Linked DNA regions of Homo sapiens: region 2 is linked to region 1. Evidence: promoter capture Hi-C in 16 types of primary human blood cells and fetal thymus (Javierre and others, 2016). All regions are on one chromosome and are shown on one strand. The core of a region is centred on a gene start or on the middle of the fragment in contact, and the rest is flanking DNA. Distances in the headings are between cores, read along the strand shown.

Evidence for each region. The method cuts DNA at HindIII sites, captures the fragments that hold promoters and counts their contacts. A CHiCAGO score of 5 or more calls a contact.
Region 2: a fragment that was not itself captured here is called in contact with the fragment with the promoter of ANKRD29 in region 1 in 2 of 17 cell types (M1 macrophages and M0 macrophages); the score reaches 5.1 in M1 macrophages.

What each region holds. Positions count from the first base shown.
Region 1 is chr18:23,661,527-23,664,431 of GRCh38, forward strand. ANKRD29 (ankyrin repeat domain 29) reads right to left here and starts at 1,385. Exons shown (of 10, transcript NM_173505.4): 1 at 1,184-1,385. The coding sequence starts at 1,204. The HindIII fragment of the contact is 8,557 bases long and covers 1-1,741 here.
Region 2 is chr18:23,785,153-23,788,057 of GRCh38, forward strand. All of the region lies in intron 12 of LAMA3 (laminin subunit alpha 3), which reads left to right. Among named protein-coding and RNA genes, the nearest start is that of LAMA3, 97 kb to the left of the region's middle. The HindIII fragment of the contact is 1,607 bases long and covers 698-2,304 here.

The sequences.
Region 1 (2,905 bases), core at 135-2,634:
AGAACCCCGTCTCTACTAAAAATACGAAAAAATTAGCTGGGCATGGTGGCGCACGCCTGTAATCCCAGCTACTCTGGAGGGTAAGGAAGGAGAAATAGCTTGAACCCGGGAGGCGGAAGTTGCAGTGAGCTGAGATCACACCATTGCACTCCAGCCTGGGCAACAAGAGCAAAACTCCGTCTCAGGAAAAAAAACTTTAAAGTCATTCACATTCGTCTGCTTCGTTCCATTCTCACCACCTATGCACTGGTCCAGTACCATTTCTTAAAAAGATGACAACATCTTCCAGCTCCAACCCTCTTCTCCAAACCTAGCCAGAGATCTTTGCAACATGCACATCTCGCCATGTCACTCCTCTGCTTACATGAGCTATTGTCGGCAACGGGATTACAGTGGCTTAGGAGTCAGACACACTTGGGTTTCAGTCTTAACACCATAACTTATTGGCTGCAAAACCGTGGGTGAGTTAATTTCTCTATATCTTAGTTTTCTCATTTGAAAAAAAAAAAAAAAAGAGCCACGAAGAGCACCTCCCACAGGTCTCCCCCAGGGTTGAGACCATACACACCATGTCCTTGGTTCAGAGTCAGGCACATTTGAACTGTTTAATACATTTTAACTGCTATTTTTATTAAACCCTTTCAATCGAGGCAAATCAACCTCTTTCATCCTAAAATGTGGGGATTAGATGGAATGACTTTAATCAACTCTTTTGAGACAAGACACCTTTGGACCCTGAAGCCTCCCTGGGTGCTGGCCACCCCTCCGGGGAGGAGGCATCCGTGGGTGCAGCTGGTACTCCTGCATGAGGACCCAGAGGGTCAGGGTCGGGGACTCCTTCTGCTGCAGGACAGCGCTGACCCCAGGCTTCTTACCCGCCCCCGACCTGTTACCCGGCGACAGTCCCCGCCGCCCCGTCGCCGGGCACAGACTCAGCCGATCCACAGCCATGAGTGCGAAGCCTCTCAGGCAGGGCAGGCAGGCAAACCGCAAACCCACAGGGCGCACCCAGCCCCGCCGCTTCCTCCCGGGCCTCGCCCGCAGCTGGAGGAGAGAGGAAGGAGGAGGCGGCGGGCAGCGGGCAGCGCCCACCCCATCCCACCCCATCCCACCCCACCCGACCCCGCGGGCCCGGCCGCCCGAGCCCGGCCCCAGCCCTGACCCCGGAGTCCCGGTCGCTCACCTTGAAGGACATCCTGCACATGTCCGCGGCCGCCCGAGCGGGAGCCGGCGCGCTTTGGGCCCGGGGCGCCTTGTCCTCCCCGGCCCTTCACTCTCCCGGGGCTCTCGGCGTTCCGCAGAGGGGCGGCCTCCGACGCCGCGCGCTCCCGCCGCCCGGCCCGGCAGCAGCCGCCGCACACAGGGCCGGGCCGAAGGGGCGGCGCGGGGGCGCGCGCGCGCGCACACTACACATGGGGTGTCGCGTGGACGCGCTCCAGGACCTGCCACACACGCGCGTGCACAAACACCCCAAACTCCGCACGCACTGTGCACTTTCCACACACGTCCACACTTCCACACTCACTCGTCCACACACACACTCCAAACTCCACACACATTGTGCATACGCTCCACATTCCACACACACAGAGGTTCCACACACATACTTTCCACACTCACGCCCACTCACCCGCATGTACTCACACACAAACTCCATACATATCCTCCCAAATAGACTGGTCTGCCCCAGAGGACTCCCAACCTTCATTACAGCACAAATATTATAATGATGTAAAAATGAAGCTTGAGGAAAAAATTCATCCAATAGCTATTTTCGTTATAATTTCTTTCTCGGTTTCCTGGGAAACTTTTTTCTCCTGGGGAAAATATCTAGGAAACAAACCTTTTGATTGCACAAACAATAAGTGGTCTTTTCCTCTTTGAAGGGCAAAGGCCAATTTTGGAATAGACTCATACCCCTCCTCCTCCTCCGCGTTATTAATCCAGCAGTTCCCTCCTCCTCTGGGTCTGATGCTGCAGCCCTGGAGTATTGCAGTATGTGTGTCCACTCCTGCTGCCTGCCCAGGATTGGTTTGGGCGAAGTAAAACTGGGAGTTTTAAGTATAAACGGCAACAACAGCTCTTTGAGAGCATTTTAGAAAAGTGAAAGTAAAAAAGTAGCCCAGGCATAGTGGCTCACGCCTATAATCCCAACTCTTTGGGAGGCCAAAGGCGGGCAGATCACTTGAGTCCAGGAGTTCGAGATCAGACTGGCCAACATGGCAAAACTCTATCTCTACTAAAAATACAAAAATTAGCCAGGCGTGGTGGTGCGCACCTGTAGTCCCAGCTACTCGGGAGGCTGAGGTGGGAGGATCGCTTGAACCTGGGAGGTTGAGGCTGCAGTGAGCCAAGATTCGGTCACTGCACTCCAGCCTGGGCAACAGAGCAAGACTCTGCCTCAAAAATAAAAATAAAAACAAAACAAAAAAATAGTATAAAAATGGAGGTCTTACCCCCTCAAACTATAAGAATCCACTCATTCATTCTCCCCCTCCTTCCCTCTTCTCAATTAAATTTGTAACGAATATTTAATTTAAAAGGTAGAAAACAATTACAAATAAAAGTTAATGATAAAAATTAAAATGTTTAACCTTCATGGATAAATTGTATTACTTTGTGCTTAAAACAACTTTAAATTAAAAACATTCTGAACTTTTATAGAAAATTCCAATTTTAAAAATAAGGACTCTAAACATTTTCCTTGCCTTGAGTGCCTATAAATGACACAGTTTTTAAGTTGCCACACAACGTTATTATATAAAAATCAAGCATCAGAGGTTTTGCTTTAATAGTTTTTTGTTTGTTTGTTTGTTTTTTCTTCTCAGATGGAGTTTCGCTCTTTTGCCCAGGCTGAAGTGAAGTGGCATGATCCTGGCTCACTGCAACCTCCACCCCCCGGGTT
Region 2 (2,905 bases), core at 251-2,750, 120 kb after region 1:
CAGCCAGCTACAGGATGCAGCCTCCTCCTTATTTCCCATCGGTCTAATCTTATTCACACACTTCCAATTTGCAAACCCAATTGGCATCCAGAGCCCTGCCCCAACAGAGTCTGAGAAGTGCTGTCTTTAGCTTTCCAGCCTCTGAACACTGGAGGATATTAGAATAGGTATTAGGTCATCTCACCTGCAAGGTCAGCCACACTAAGGAACTGTAAGCATGAAAAACTCCCTCCCCTAAGCTGGAGGACAAGGTAGTGAAGAGCAGGGGTGGCACTAGCTATCAACTTGGGCAAGTTACTTAACCCCTCTGTTCCTCAGTTTCCAAAAAATAGTGCCTGTCTCATAATTCATTGTTGTGAGGGTTACATATGTACTGACAGGTAAAGCTCTTAGAACTGAGGAAGTAATTGTTCATAAGTTAGCTATTCACTTGCACCTTTCTTCTCCTGACCTATACTTCCCTCTGCATCATTTTAAGAGCTTGTAGTCCCATTTCCAGCCATCTCCCTGTTTGTTTAAATGCCTGAATCCCATACCCCAAACCTTTCCTTTACCTGCTGGCTCCTGGTGTGCAAAACATTCTTGTGGCTGAAAATATATCAAAGGGTTTCTTTTTTTCCTCCTCTCTACCAGCCACAACTTCAGATTCATTCTGGTAGAATGAATTACAAATATTCTAACTTATTCATATGGACAAAGCTTGTGTTTATGGATACAAAGATAATGAATAAATAATACAACACTTTAAGAATGCTCTTTTCCACATTTCTCCACTACTAGAGCTAATTTATTTTAAGGTAGGTAGAAAATGCATGAATGTATTCATGACAAAGCAGAGGGGAGGAAGGACTTCCATAACAACAGAGGAGGGAGGTTGGTAGATACTCTTTTCAGTAAAACAGAAATTAACCAGTGAAAATATTTTAAAAAATTGTTTGAAGTCTCTGTTAATGGTCATAAGAGCATATAGCAAATGAAGAAACAATTACTTAAGAAAATTTGAATCTAGGTAAGAAATGAGAGTCTCTGTGACATTTCAGCCATGACCCCCTTCATTATCCATCCCCAAATCTGTTTTATAGAAGATCTACCCATATGTGTTGCCAAGAAGATGGGCACTCTCTTTATCCTGTGCCCCAGTTTGGGGCTATGGTTTGTTTCATTTTGGGAGGGGAAGGCCACTGATATTTCTCAACCTTCTGCAGTCCTGTATAGCAGAAGCCCTATTCCAGGTGGGCTCAGCAAAGAGGACCAGCTCTCTCTTACCCACCACCCCTCCACTTGTAGGGTAGTAGCTCTAACTTAGGCACTTCAGGCTGAGAATTCTGGGATCCCAATCAACCCTACCCAAGCTGGCTCATAGAGTAGGGATCTATGGTGGGAGAGGAAAACTGAGAAGACCATGGCGCCACCTCCACCTGTGTCCACTTGTAGAGCATAGCAGAATTTCAAAGAAAGAGGGAAGTGTGACCCATACATAGGGGAAGAAGAAGACAATAGAAACCACTTTTGAATGAGCCAGATGGTAGTCTTAGCAGACTTTAAAGCAGCTATTATAAATCTGTATAGAAGACTAAAGGAAATCATGGTTAATGAATTAAAGGAAGGTATGATGACAACATCTAATTGAATAGAGAATATCAATAAAGAGATAGAAATTGTTTTACAAAATAACCAAATGGAACTTTTGGAGTTGAAAAGTATAATAACTGAAATGAAAAATTCACTAAAGTGGCTCAACAGTAAATTGAGCTAGCAGAAGAAAGAATCAGCAAACTTAATGACAGATTGATAGAGATTGTGCAGTCTGAAAACAGAAAGAAAAAAAGAATGAAAATAAATAAACAGGCCGGGGGCAGTGGCTCATGCCTGTTATCTCAGCACTTTGGGAGGCCAAGAGGGGTGGATCACTTGAAGTAAGGAGTTTGAGATCAGCCTGGCCAACATGGTGAAACCCCGTCTCTACTAAAAATACAAAAATTAGCCAGGCATGGTGGCAGGCGCCTGTAATCCCAGCTACTTGGGAGGCTGAGGCAAGAGAATTGCTTGAACCTGGGAGGCAGAAGTTGCAGTGAGCCAAGATCGCACCATTGCCCTCCAGCCTGGGTGACAAGAGTGAAACTCTGTCTCAAATAAATAAATAAATAAACAGAACCTGAAAGAAATATGGGATACCATTAAGCACAACATATGGGTAATGAGAGCATCAGAAAGAGAGGAGAAAAAGGAATAGAAAAAAATAGCCAAAGAAATAATGGTGGAAAACTTACTAAATTTAATGAAAAGCCATCTATACAGCTAAGAAGCTTAATGAACTCCAAATAGCATAAATACAGAGGGATCCACACAGCCAGACATATTATAGTTAAAATCATAATTAAAATTTTGAAAGACAAAGACAAAGAGAAAATCTTGAAAGCAGGAAAAAAAAGACTCATTATGAACACAGGAACACCAGTTAGAATAACAACTGACTTCTCATTAGTAACAATAGAGGCAAGAAGGCAGTGAGAGCGTATATTCTAAGTGCTGAAAGTGGAAAAACTGTCAACCAAGAATCTCCTATCCATCAAAATTACTATTCATGATCAAGGCTAAGTAAAGACTTTCTCAGATGAACAAAAACTAACAGAATTCACCCAACCTGACTTATAAGAAATAATAGACATAATAAAGGATGTTCTTAAAGCTGAAACAGGTACCATCAAATAATAATTTGAATAACATGTAAAAATTACAAAAGAGAGTATAATTGAATATTTTTATACATTCTTCTCTTGACTGATTTTAACAGAAAGTATACGAACTGTATATACAAATACATACATACATACATAAATATGGGGCCTATATCATATAAAAATGTAATATGTTTGACAGTAGCACAAAGGAGATAGGTGAGAAC